Regions from separate parts of the Homo sapiens genome. Here regions 2, 3 and 4 are each linked to region 1. Evidence: promoter capture Hi-C in human tissues and cell types (Jung and others, 2019). All regions are on one chromosome and are shown on one strand. Each heading gives the region's core, a stretch centred on a gene start or on the middle of the fragment in contact. The rest is flanking DNA. Distances are from core to core; before and after follow the strand shown. Region 1 holds the start of E2F1 (E2F transcription factor 1). Region 2 has its middle 24 kb from the start of EIF2S2. Region 3 overlaps RALY (RALY heterogeneous nuclear ribonucleoprotein). Region 4 overlaps RALY (RALY heterogeneous nuclear ribonucleoprotein).

The links. Contacts are between HindIII fragments. The study calls those that stand out against the background at their distance.
Region 2: a contact is called between a fragment that was not itself captured here and the fragment with the promoter of E2F1 in region 1, in 1 of the 25 tissues and cell types used here (lymphoblastoid cells).
Region 3: a fragment that was not itself captured here is called in contact with the fragment with the promoter of E2F1 in region 1 in 1 of the 25 tissues and cell types used here (dorsolateral prefrontal cortex).
Region 4: a fragment that was not itself captured here is called in contact with the fragment with the promoter of E2F1 in region 1 in 1 of the 25 tissues and cell types used here (dorsolateral prefrontal cortex).

Annotation. Positions count from the first base shown.
Region 1 is chr20:33,684,903-33,688,323 of GRCh38, forward strand. It overlaps E2F1 (E2F transcription factor 1), which reads right to left and starts at 1,483. Exons shown (of 7, transcript NM_005225.3): 1 at 1,102-1,483. The coding sequence starts at 1,362. RefSeq lists silencers at 853-1,212, 1,323-1,822. The HindIII fragment of the contact is 12,256 bases long and covers 1-3,421 here.
Region 2 is chr20:34,134,531-34,137,951 of GRCh38, forward strand. No RefSeq gene overlaps it. Among named protein-coding and RNA genes, the nearest start is that of EIF2S2, 24 kb to the left of the region's middle. The HindIII fragment of the contact is 7,856 bases long and covers 1-3,421 here.
Region 3 is chr20:34,077,260-34,080,680 of GRCh38, forward strand. RALY (RALY heterogeneous nuclear ribonucleoprotein) reads left to right here. Exons shown (of 10, transcript NM_016732.3): 9 at 1,246-1,294; 10 at 2,651-3,421. The coding sequence ends at 1,290. Among named protein-coding and RNA genes, the nearest start is that of MIR4755, 30 kb to the left of the region's middle. RefSeq lists an enhancer at 1-340. The HindIII fragment of the contact is 3,668 bases long and covers 1-3,376 here.
Region 4 is chr20:34,056,033-34,059,453 of GRCh38, forward strand. The region is part of intron 2 of RALY (RALY heterogeneous nuclear ribonucleoprotein); the gene reads left to right. Among named protein-coding and RNA genes, the nearest start is that of MIR4755, 8.6 kb to the left of the region's middle. The HindIII fragment of the contact is 3,702 bases long and covers 1-3,372 here.

The sequences.
Region 1 (3,421 bases), core at 233-2,732:
GCCTGGCCAGACCCCGCCTGCACACCAGAGCCCCACCTTCACCCATAGGCTGCGCCAGTCAAACTGGTCTCCACACCCTGCCCTGTGCCCCACAGTTCCCAGCTCCAGGCTTCTACGCCTCCAATCCCTTCTCCCACTGGAATTCAGCCGCCTCTTCTGGGCCCTCCAGTCTGAATTCGTCTTGAGCTCAGCGATCAGGGAGGGCTTTATTAAAGGATCTCCCTGAGACATTTTCTCTCCTGGCACTGGGGGCCTCCTCTCCAGCTCCCAGAGGCCCAGCCCACCTAGTCCTTCTACAGAGACTCAGGGGTCGGCCTGCCTGATTAATGAGGTTCCATGGCAACCAGGGCCTGGGAGGGTGGAGGGTGGCAGATGGAAGGACAGGCAGAGGGAGGGGATCAGCAGCTGGTCCAGCTGCCCCGCCCCTGCAGAGAAGGCCTCCCAGCCAGGAGGGCTGTCCCCAGAGGCCTGGCCGGCCAGGCCTGCACCTGGCAGTCAGCATCGAGGCAGGAAGGAGGGTCTCCTCAATGGCTCACCAACGGTTAGGCCCCAGGACTTTCCTCCGCCCCGCCTTCACTTCCCCTAGCAGCTGTGCTCACTACCGAGATGCAAATTCTGAGCTGAAGCCAGCAGGCCTCAGTTCAAATCCCAGCCCCACCACCTGCAGCCGTGTGACCAGGGGCAAGTCACTTTCCCTCTCTGGGCCTCAGTTCCTCCTCCGTCAGATGGGCACAGTGACAACACAGCTCACAGCGGGGTTGTGAGTTTTAGCTGGCTTGAAGTCGCCCAAAGGCCTGGCATGCAGTAAACGCCAGTTGAATACACGTGGGCTATTATTATCACTGAGTCCGACGCTGGGGAGGCTCCGGTGAGGAAGCTGAGGCGCAGAGCACAGAGCAGCAAACAGGGACCGGCCCGAGGTCACCCCGCACCCCAGGGCGGGGCCCGGAGGCCCAACCCCGGCTCTGCACCGCCCAGCCTGGGCGCCTCAGTCAACCCCTCCCCCGCCCCCTGCCGCCTCCAGGCCAAACACGGCGCCCTCCCGGGTCTGCGCGGGGGGCACAGGCGGCGCTGTCGGCGCGGCGTCCCTGGGGTCCGTACCGGCGGGCGGCCGAGCGCGGGCCGCGGCGCACTGGGTGTGGGCCGGGGCGCCTGCGGTGTGGCGAAGAGCAGCAGGTCAGGGTCGCAGGGGCCGGCGGCGGGCGCCGCGGGGCCGGTGGGAGCCGGCGGGGCGCTGGCGTCCTGCGCGGCGGAGATGATGACGATCTGCGAGGAGTCGAGCAGCCGCAGCGCGCCGGCCCCGAGCAGGGCCTCCAGCGCCGGCGCGCATGGGCCGCCCGCAGGGGCCCCGGCCAAGGCCATGACGCTCACGGCCCGCGCGGCCCGGGTGACAGGCGGCGGCGGCGGCGCGGGCCCATGGCGGCAGGCCTCGGCGAGGGCTCGATCCCGCTCCGCCCCCGGCCGCCGCTGCCTGCAAAGTCCCGGCCACTTTTACGCGCCAAATCCTTTTTGCCGCGAAAGAGCCACGAGCCGCCGAGCGCCGCCACAATTGGCTGCCCCGGCCGTGACGGGAACAACGGCGGCGGTTCCTATTGGCTTTAACGCGCCGGACCCGGCGGCGAGGGGCGGGATGGGGCGGCGGCGCGGGGCGGTACGGCCAATGGCGGGGCGGGGCGCGCGCAGGCTTTGTCCGGATGGTACCAGGCGCGGTGTGACTCCCCGCCCCCAGCCCGGGCGTCCCCTGCTGGAGGCGTGGGGACACCGGAACATAGGCCCCGCCCCGCCCCGACGCTCCCGCATCCCACTGACCTTTCTATAGTGCAGGTTCAGAACAGAGCCTCTCTTCTGCACGTGACCCTCAACCTGTAGCCCCCAACAGCCTCAGCTTAGATTTCCAGAGACTGTCCCCTCTTCTTTTCAGGATCATCAGTTCCACAGCCCAGCCATCAGCCACCTCTTCCATCCTCAACTTGCCTCACCCATGACATTATCCTAATCCTGCACCCAGCCCTATCCCGCTCACCCAGAGCCCAAGCTGAAGAGCGGTGCCTGGAAATGGCGAGGGGGACGTCGGGCTTTCCTGCAAGTCCCATTTTAGCCAAAATCTCCAACAGCCAACGTATAGCATCTGCTTGAACTCATTCATTCCCTCACTCATTCAACAAACGTTTGGAGAGCTTGCTCTGTGCCCCATCCTCAATTCGTGGCCCTAAGGAGCTCACAGTCCAGTAGACAGGGGAACAGAAAGGTAACAGACGTTTACAATACGATGAAGTGGCGTCTGGGCGCGGTGGCTCACCACCGGAATCCCTGTAATCAGCTGGCGGGGTGGATCGCATGAGCCCAGGAGTTCGAGACCAGCCTGATCAACATGGTGAAGACCCATCTCTACAAAAAATACAAAAATTAGCCAGGCATGGTGGCGTGTGCCCGTAGTCCCAGCTACTTGGGAGGCTGAGGTGGGAGGATTGCTTGAGCCCGAGAAGTCGAGGCTGCAGTGAGCTATGATCATGCCACTGCACACCAGCCTGGGCGACAGAGCGAGATCCTGTCTCTAAAACAAAAAAAGAAAACACATCACTTCTAGGGAGCCCTCCCAAGGATTTACTCACTTCCTCTATTGCCCACTGCTGCCTCTGCTCCAATGCTGACCACACACACTCCTTTTCTCCATCTGCCTCCCCTGCCAATCTAGGAGCTCAGTAGCGACTCCTCCCAACACTGGTCTGGCCCAGAGCAGGCGCTGAGAAAGGTTATGAAAGAAACAGAGGCTAAGCCAGAGGCTGCCTAGACTGTGACAAGGAGACCACGGTTCTGCAAGGGTGGTCCTTAGGCCACTGGCTTCAGAACCACGTGGTCACTTGCTAATTTTGGGCCCACCCTGGCCCTGCCAATTTAAAATCTCTAGGTGCCCAAGAATCTGCATTTTAACAATGCCATGTCCCCTTTCCAGGTGATATTTGTTATTCTTTTTCTTTTTTTTTTTTTGACACTTAGGGAATTAGAAAAGCCAGTATCTTATTTTTTTTTTCCTATTTATTTTATATAGACGAGGTCTCACTATGTTGCCCAGGGTAGTCTCAAACCCCTGGGCTCAAGAGATCCTCCCGCCTCAGCCTCCAGCATAGCTGGTACTCCAGGTGACTGCCACCTCACCAAGCTTCCAGGTTATTTTTATGCATACTCACATTTGAAAGCAAACTGGTGTACCAGCATAATCAAAATGAGTGGTGCAGCCTCAAATCACAGCTCCTGAGGATGCTTCTCACCCTTAGTTTCAAATGGGCACACAGACCTTGCCCTGGCCCCTTCCAGGGTTGCCAGGAGAATGAAAAGCATAAGGAATTGGAAAGTGTTTTACAAACTATGAGGTGGTTTAGGAAATCAGGAGTTGTTTTCCCCTCCAATGAGTAGTTTCTGA
Region 2 (3,421 bases), core at 589-3,088, 450 kb after region 1:
CCTGTCATTGGTCCTGAACATCTAGAATTATGGAGGCTTATGTGGCCTCGCACCACATTGGAATTTGGTCTGGAAATCAAGTTATAGGAACAAAAGACCGTAAGCCATCTTATACTATTGACCTAAATTCCAGTCTGACAATTCCTTTGCAAAGTTGTGTAAAACCCCCTTATATGCTAATTGTAGGAAACATAGTTATTAAACCAGATTCCCAAACTATAACCTATGAAAATTGTAGATTGTTTACTAGCATTGATTCGACTTTTAATTGGCAGCACCGTATTCTACTAGTGAGAGCAAGAGAGGGCGTGTGGATTCCTGTGTCCATGGACCGACCGTGGGAGGCTTCGCCATCTGTCCATATTTTGACTGAAGTATTAAAAGGAGTTCTAAATAGATTCAAAAGATTCATTTTTACTTTGATGCAGTGATTATGGGATTAATTGCAGTCACAGCTACGGCTGCTGCGGCAGAAGTTGCATTGCACTCTTCTGTTCAGACAGTACGCTTTGTTAACAATTGGCAAAAAAATTCTATGAGATTGTGGAATTCACAATCTGGTATTGATCAAAAATTGTCGAACCCAATTAATGATCTTAGACAAACTGTCATTTGGATGGGAGATAAGCTCATGAGCTTGGAAATCGTTTTCAGTTACACTGTGACTGGAATACATCAGATTTTTGTATTACACCCCGAGCCTATAATGAGTCTGAGCATCACTGGGACATGGTTAGACGCCATCTACAGGGAAGAGAAGATAATCTTACTTTAGACATTTCAAAATTAAAAGAGCAAATTTTCAAAGTATCAAAAGCCCATTTACATTTCGTACCAGGAACTTAGGCAATCGCAGGAGCTGCTGATGGCTTCACAAATCTTAACCCTGTCACTTGGGTTAAAACCCTCAGAAGTTCCACTATTGTAAATTTCATATTAATCCTTGTGTGCCTATTCTGTCTGTTGTTAGTCTACAGGTGTAACCAGCAGCTCCGAAGAGACAGTAACCATCAAGAACAGGCCATAATGAAGATGGCGGTTTTGTCAAAAGAAAAGGGGGAAGTGTGAGGAAAAGAAAAAGAGATCAGATTGTTACTGTGTCTATCTAGGAAAAGGAAGACAAAAGAAACTCCATTTTGATCTGTACTAAGAAAAATTGTTCTGCTTTGAGATGCTGTTAATCTGTAACTCTTGTCCCAACCCTGTGCTCGCAAAAACATGTGCTGTATTGACTCAAGGTTTAAGGGAGGGCTGTGCAGGATGTGCTTTGTTAAAAATGTGTTTGCAGGCAGTATATTGGTGAAAGTCATCGCCATTCTCCATTCTCTGTTAACCAGGGACACAATGCACTGTGGAAGTCTGCAGGGACCCCTGCCCAAGAAAGCCTGGGTATTGTCCAGGTTTCCCCCGACTGAGACAGCCTGAGATATGGCCTCATGGGAAGGGAAAGAACTTACAGCCCCCCAGCCCTACACCCGTAAAGGGTCTGTGCTAAGGAGGATTAGTGAAAGAGGAAGGCCTCTATGCGGTTGAGATAAGAGCGTGGCATCTGTCTCCTGCACGTCCCTGGGATTGGATGTCTCAGCATAAAACCGACCATATATTCTATTCTGAGACAGGAGAAAACCACCTTATGGCTGGAGGTGAGACATCATGGCGGCAATACTGCTCTGTTACTCTTTACTGCACTGAGTTGTTTATGTAAGCTTAAACATAAATCTAGCGATTGTGCACATCCAGGCACAGCACCTTTTCTTAAACTTATTTATGACAGAGTCTTTGCTCACATGTTCCTCTGCTGACCCTCTCCCCACCTTCACCCTATAGCCCCGCCACACTCCCCTCGCAGAGATAGTAAAGATAGTGATCAATAAATATGGAGGGAACCAGAGACCAGTGCCAGTGCAGGTCCTCACTTGCTGAGTGCCGGTCCCCTGGGCCCACTTTTCTTCCTCTATACTTTGTCTCCGTGTCTTATTTCTTTTCTCAGTCGCTCGTCTCCATCTTGCGAGAAATACCCACAGGTGTGGAGGGGCAGCCTCCCTTCAAAAATGCATTAAAGACTTAAATGTACTCCAAACTGTAGAACTACTAGAAGAAAACATGGGGAAACACTCTAGGATATGGGTCTAGGCAAAGACTTTATGACTAAGACCTCAAAAGCACAGGCTACAAAAACAAAAATAGACAAATGGGACTATTTTAAACTAAAAAGTTTCTGCACAGCAAAGGAAACAACAGAATGAAGAAACAACCTGTTGAATGGTACAAAATATTTGCAAACCATTCATCTAACAAGGGATTAATATCCAGAATATACATGGAACTCAAACAACTCAACAGCAAAAACAATTCCATTTTTAAAAGCGGGCAAAGGATCTGAACAGACATTTCTCAAAAGAAGACGTACAAAGGCCATCAAGTATATGAAAAAATGCTCAATATTACTAATCATCATAGAAATGCAAATCAAGGCCAGGCTTGGTGGCTCATGCCTGTAATCCCAGCACTTTGGGAGGCCAAGATGGGCCTGAGGTCAGGAGTTCAAGACCAGCCTGGCCAACATAGTGAAACCCCGTCTCTATTAAAAACACAAAATTAGCCAGCGTGGTGGTACACGCCTATACTCCCAGCTACTCAGGAGGCTGAGGCAGGAAAGTCGCTTGAACCCAGGAAGCAGAGGTTGCAGTGAGCTGAGATCGTGCCATTGTACTCATTGTACTCCAGCCTGGGCAACAAGAGAGAAACTCTGTCTAAAAAAAAAAGAGGGGGGGGAATCAAAACCACTATGAGATATTGTCTCACCCCAGTTAGAATGGCTACTATGAAAAAGATTAAAAAAAAAAAAAAAAAAAAACAGTTGCTGGTCAGGATGCAGAGAAGAGGAAACTTACACACCGTTGGTGGGAATGTAAATTAGTACAGCCATTATGGAAAACAGTATGGAGATTTCTCAAAAAAACTAAAAGTAGAACTACCATGCGAGGTAGCAGTCTCACTACTGAGTATTTATCCAAAGGAAAGGACATCAGTATATCAAGGGATAGCTCCACCCATATGTTTATTGCAGCACTATTCACAATAGCAAAGATATTGAATCAACTTTGTGTCCATCAGTGGATGACTGAGAAAGAAAATGTGATATATATACATAATGGAATATTATGTGGCAGTAAAAAAGACTGAAAGCTGGGCATGTTGGCTCATGCCTGTAATCCCAGCACTTTAGGAGATCAAGGTGGGAGGACTGTTTGAGGCCAGGAGTTCGAGACCAGCCTGGGCAACACAGTGAGACCACGTCTCTACAAAAAATAAAATAAAAAATTAGCTGAGCATGGCAGCTTGTGCCTTTAGTCCCAGCTACTCAGGAGACAGAGTCAGGAGGACCACTTGAGCCTAGAATTTCAAGGCTGCCGTGTGC
Region 3 (3,421 bases), core at 293-2,792, 390 kb after region 1:
AGGGGCACGACTGGGACTCGACTGTGCTCCTACTCTCAGGAGGCCAACAGGGGAATGGGCAGCCTGAGCTGGTTGCCCCCACTGTGAACTTCCTGTTCTCTCCTTCCCAGGGGTTCTGGTCCTGGGGGAAAGAGGGAAGAATGAGCAGGGGGCACTTGCCTATCTCAGACACCATCAGAAGTCCCACTGAGGCCTAGGGCAGACCTCCCCCAAATGCGGGCACATTCTGGCCTCCGGTTTCCACATGAGTTGGAGAATGGGAGATTCGGACATAAGGGAGCACACACGGCCTGCAGAGCTTCAGAGCAGGGCTGGGGTGGCTTGTGGAGGCCACAGCCAGGAGGTGGGTTTTTCTAAAAGCCATTGCTGCTTAAGCATGAAGCAAAAGCTGTCTCATAAGGGGGTGAGCTCCCCGCCTGTTACTAGAACTATTCAGGCTGAGGCCGGCAGGCCATTTGACAAGGAGCTTATGTTGAGTGGGAGGGTGGACCAAACTCTGAGTCTGTGGGATATGGGTTGTACACTTGCTGCTCATTTACTTAATGAGCGCTCATTGAGCACCAAGACCCAGATCATACTCTCTAACTTCACATAACCTTAACAAGAGCCCTGTACTATGCAGAGTATTCTGTTCCCACATTTTACCCTGTGAGGAAATCGAGGCTCAGAAAGGCTGAGTGGCATGCTCAGGGCATCAGCTCGTAGGGACTGAGCCAGGGTTGGAGTCCAGACTGACTTGCTGGATCTGCAGCTTTCTCCTTTTCAGCACTGCTGGGTTCTATCGTGAGAACAGATGGGCTCATGGCCATGACGGTTAGGAGGTCTGCCTTATGCTAGCTCATCTCTCCTTTGAGCGTAGCCTGATCCTTCATCTTATTTTCTCAGGCATAGCAGTGTCCATAAAGGCCCTAACAAAGACTTGGATGCCCCCAGAGATGGGGAGCTCACCAGTCTATAAGGCTTTCAGCCTTCTCCAGTGCAGGCTCTCTGCACAGAAATGGGGCTCCTGCCACTCCCAGAACACCCTTCACTGGCCTGTGTGGGGTCCTCAGACCACCCTTCCAAGTTCCCAAGCCAGCTTTGTTGGCTGGTCCCATAGTCATTCCCCTTGGCTGTTCCTGCGTCTTCTGACTGTGTCCTCTAGATGCCCTCTGGACCATGAAGTTTTTCTGGACAAATGGCTCAGGGCAGGACTCAGAGCTGGCAATGAGTGATGTGTGGTCTCTCTTACCTCCTCCCTATCAGGAACACAGCCAGGACACAGACGCGGATGATGGGGCCTTGCAGTAAGCAGGTACAGGGGTCCTGTCCTGATGGGCAGAGGGTGGGGAATCAGTGAAGTGGAGGTTGTGCCTTTTCCCTGGATTGGGCAGGAAGTGTCACGAAGCATACCTGGCCAAGTAGCACTGACTATACCCAAGAATGAAGTCCCCTCCATATCTAGCCATCCCGTCACACCCCTTCATGCTTGGGGCTTGCCATGCTGAGGAAGCAGGTGCCGTAGATGGGCCAGGCGGGCCCACCTAGCAAGGGTTCCTTCCCTCAGCACACTCAGCCATGTTGCCTGTCTCTGCCCTTGAGGAGCTCCTAGTCTGGTAGAGGAAGACATAAGCCATTACCACCTAGTGTGAGCAGGATAACAATAGAGCGAGGCCAGGTCATGGAAGAGATGATGTGTAGCTGAGCCTGCTAGTGATTGAGGGAGCAATGTTCCACACCAGGGGAATGGCCTTAGCCATACAGAGCTGTGACAGTCCTTGGTATGTGGTGAGGCCAAGAGCCTCCTGTGGCTGCAGTGCCCCCCTAGTTGGTAGAGGACTCTGCTTATTGTCAGAGGGTGATGATTGTGAAGGGCCGTATGTGTCAGGCTTAGGGGCTGGGATTTGATTCTTTCATGGGGAGGAAATGCCCTGTGTGACAGGAGCTGCACCTGCTTTCTCTGAGTTCATCTTCAATCCCACAAGCTGATGATTGTACCAATATAATAGATGTGGAAACAGACACTAAAGGGTGCAGGGAGATAAGGTAGTAGTTGGTGGAGCCTGGATTTCAGCCCAGTGGTGTGTGGCTTCAAAGCCCACTCTCTGGCCACTGTTTACCATCTACTCTGCCCTACCTTAAAGGAAAGCCAGGCCACACCTGGCTGTGCCTACTACTCTCTGACCCATTCCCTTGGGGTGGCTTGGGTGGAGGAAGGTCTCAAACACTAGTGTTTCCAGGGAGGTGTCTGGATAGATGACACATTTATGCTGTAGTAAGATATCCCACCAGCAAAGGCTTCCAGAAGAGCTTTAGAAAATTGTACATATGCAGTCTTCTTTTGGAACTTCTTGGTTTGTTTTGCCTGGGATGCAAACAAACCTCCATATCCAGCCATCCTGCTACACCCCTTTGTGCCTGGTGCTTTCCAAAGCTTGTTAAAATAGTTCACAGGTGAGTTATATGGGCTCAGGTGAGGAAATGGAGGTTCAGAGAGCGGGTGAGACTTGCCCAAGGTTACATGGCCAGGAAATTATGAGGCCACAGCCAGAGTGCAAGAATCTCTCTGTCTCCAGACATCATTCCACCCTTTCTTCCCTACCCCTTTTATCAGCAACAGGGTCTCTTCCTCTCAGCCTTAGTCTCTTCTTTCTCTCTCTCTCTTTCTCAGCCTGACAGGAGCAATGGCCACCAGCAGGTGAAGGGCATCGCTGCCCCAGGCCTCAAGCCGGGCACCCAACCCTGGATGCCACCCCCCAGCGGGTACCAGAGGAAAGCTGGCAGCAGGCGCCTCCTCCCCCAACGCATCCCAGCCAGTGCCATGTCCTCTGCAGGTGGAGTTACTGGCCTACTCCTTCCCCATGAGCCCTCCCTGTCTGCACTGCCCAGGCCAGAGGGTAGAGCACAGGGGTTTCCCCATACTACCTCCCCTCCCCAGGACACTCCCAGGCTTGGGTTTTTTCTATAGGTTTGGCGGGGGGCCACAGGGAGGGGACCCTGACAATAAAGAGATTGGATCCCAACCTGTTCTGAGATGGGATGGTTTGTGTTTTCTCATGAAGATATCCCGGCCCCTCTGCCAACCAAAAAGCTGGTCTAGGGTGCCTAATACTGATCCATCTGGACCTTAGTGTCCTCAGTGGTGATTAAAATGGCCAGTGGGGCCACTGGGGAGGGTTGGATATGCTGGCCCATGAGCATCTTGCTGGCTGAAGTGTCAAGCAGTTGTGACCCACTTGGTTTACCCCATAGTAGGTCAAGACCTTATCTCTTTCCCCAGCTTCTAAGTCTGGTCTTTCCCAGCTCTTAAAAGGATTCTAGAGTCTGCCAGTCTCTACCTTCTCTCTTCTGGCTTAGGACACTATAATTTTTTCATTTGGACGTTGTCCTCCCACCAGCCTCCCAGTCTTCTGCCTCTGCCCTGTACCATCTCCCAGCAGCC
Region 4 (3,421 bases), core at 272-2,771, 370 kb after region 1:
CCTCCTTACTGAGCACTGGGCTGCGTACAACATCAGAACGGGTGATGGCTCACTCTTCAGTGTCCACAAAGCCCTTTCTGATCTGATCTCGGCTAGGCACTCTAGTATCATCGGCATCATTTCTTGTTACATCCTAGACTCTGGGCAAACCACAATACATCATATTATTCATTAAATGTGGGATCTCTGTCAAACTTCTGTAACTTTCCTTATGCTATTTCCTCTTAAATGTACTCTCTTACCTGTGTGTGGGTTAACTTCAACTCATCCTTCAGGACAAGATTGGAACTTACTGTTGACTCTTCTTGTCTGAGTCGTCTCCCTTTCTTTCTGTCCCTTAGGTAATTGACATGCCTCCAAGTTCCTAGTTGCTCCTGTCATAGACCTCATCAAGATGAAACATAGGTTCTGGTTTTCTTGAGGTTTTCACCACTGACTGGACTATAAATTCTTCCAGGGGGGAGATTGTACTTTATTAACCTCTGTAGTTTTATACAGTGTCTGGCAGTAATAGGTGAACAATAAATGATTTTTTGATAAATGAGTAAATCTTTTTAGCATGTTATTCCTCTACCTAGGAACCTACAGTAACTTCATGGCACTCAAAACTTTGTAGACTCAAAAGCTAGTAAACACAGTAGACTATACATCTTCACATGTACATGAAAACAGTAATGAGGATTTGATTTTCCCTACTAATTCACCTCTACTCTCCCTACCCCACCACCTGCCCAATATGGTAATACATGGTGCTGCGAGGTTGCCATGAAAGTGGCATTCATTGGAGATAACAGTGTAAATTGGTGTAACTCTTTTGGAAAGCAGTTAAGCAATGTGTTGCCAGAGCCAATAAAATGTTCATATATTTGACCAGTCATTCCACTTCTGGGAGTCTGTCCTAAGGAAATAGTCTAGTTTATACAATAAGCTTTCCCTCAGATGCTATTGTTTATAATAGTGAGAAATTGGAAAAAGCCTAAAAGACCACCAATCTAAACTATGATAAATCTACTCAGGGAAAACCACGAGCTTTTAAAGCAGTAGTGTAAAAAATGATGCTTACCGAAAACTATGCGGCAGTAAGGACAAATATGCTATAATATATATAATAAATGTGTTATAATGCTAATTGAAAAAATTAGGCTACAGAGTTGAGTTATCTAACCATGTAATCCAAACATAATGTGCAAGAAAAACACTGGAAGGAAATACATGAACATGCTAACAGTTATGTCCCATAGAGGGGTGGGGGTTAGATGATTTCATATGGTAATTTCATATAATAAACATACTCAATATAATAGCACAAATTCTTACCCAAATTATTGGTTAAGAATTTTAAAATAATAAACCAGCCAGGTGTGGTGGCTCACGCCTGTAATCCCAGCACTTTGGGAGGCTGAGGCGGGCGGATCACGAGGTCAGGAGATCGAGACCATCCTGGCTAACACGGTGAAACCCTGTCTCTACTGAAAATACAAAAAATTAGCTGGGCATGGTGGCGGGCGCCTGTAGTCCCAGCTACTCTGGAGGCTGAGGCAGGAGAATGGCATGAACCTGGGAGGCGGAGCTTACAGTGAGCCGAGATGGCGCCACTGCACTCCAGCCTGGGCGACAGAGCGAGACTCCGTCTCAAAAAAAAAAAAAAAAAAACAACCTCTGATCTTACCCATTTTAAACAAAGAAATGATATGGTAATATTGCTGTGGTGACAGTAGAGGATTATTTAAAGAATGGTAATAAGAATGGAGAGAGGGGGGCTACATTCTAAAAATATTGAGGCCAAATGAGGAGGGCGTGGTGAATAACAGTATGTGGGGGAAATGTATATGCCTAATAGAGAACATTGGTTCATGGAGTTTAATGAGATGTCCAAGGTCACACAGCTAGTAAGTGGCTGATCCTGGATTTAAACCTTGTTCTGTCTCTGTCCAAAGCCATGCCCTTTCTCCTGCAGCTGAGACACCTATTACAGTTTTGGAGAAACTTTTTTTTTTTCTTTTAACCAGTTGCAGTGTAGAAGCTTGTTTAGTGTAGTGCCTCCTTTTTGAGGGGAAGGGGGCCGGGAAGGGTTAATTCTTTCTAAGACAATGACAAGGGGGAAAGACCATAGATACCAAAGCTGCTTCTGTCATGATCAGTTGAATTGATGAGTTTAGAAGTTCACTAGGCATTGGGTGTGTTATACCTGTCGTTTTGAGGGCTGTTTTTTGTGAAGTTGCAGGGGTTCATTGGTTGGCTTTCGTTTGATGCTTAGCTTATGGTAGCAGGGCATCTTGGACATAAGCGTGCATATGTATACCGTATTACATGCTAATGAACATTTTGTTCATTACACCAAGTTTATTAATGATGCTGCTGCTGTGGGAGTGAGAGAGGGGTCAGGGTGGCAGCTTCAAACAAGGGACAGTGTCTAAGCTGCTCTCTGAAAGGAACGGTTCACCTGAACCATACAATGCCCTATCCCCATACTTCTCAATGACTAATCCAAGAAAAGGTGATTTTGAACTTGAGTCTATCCTTTGGAGTATGATACTCATCCCTTCGGAAGAACCCATTTCACATTGACATGTTCACTCTCTGACCTTAGGCATGTTCTCTGCGCTAGGGTTTACTCTCTGCACTAGGGTTTGCCTAATAGAGAACATTGGCTCAATGAGTTTAATGAGATGTCCAAGGTCACACAACTAGTAAGTGCTGATCCTGGATTTAAACCCACTAGGGTTTACTCATTTATAAAGTGAATGACATATAACCACTCAGAGGATTGTTGTGTATAGATTTGGTAGCCTTAACTCATGAAGAGTCTTGTAAGCCACATTAAAGGATTTGAACTTGATTCTTTATGGTGGGAAGCCCTTGAAGGATTTTAAACAGGAGGTGGCAGGGGCACACTTGATTGATCACACAGGAAGCAGATGCTTAGTAATGTTTGTGGAGTTAATGTTGTTACCAGGGAGACAAAGGCAGAGTGGCTACAACTGTGGCATCATTCTCAGTGGTCCCCTGTAGACCAAACATGTGACACTGTGGGAGATGATGCTTAGAGCCCTAAGTTATGTTTGGATCAGCACCCTGGAGAGAGGTCACCCGTTCCTTCCTTCCCCTGTCTGAATGTGGGAAATTTAAGATATATGTTGATGCATATGCTGTCTTATAGGGTCAAGCCTTTGGGGCTGTGAGGGGTGCCACTCAGTGTGTTCAAGGAGAAGGATTGTTGTAATGAGGAAAATACTGATTCTGCATGAAAGGATTTTAATCAACTGCCCTGATACCTGAGGGACACAGTACTTGGCTGGAGTGCTGAATTGTGCACCATCCAGCCCTTGCTTCCAGCCTGCTGGCTTCCTGCTTGGGTGCCTCTGTCTAGGAAGACCTGCAGCAGCTGTCCATCCTGGGAGTATTCCTGTCTATGCTTACG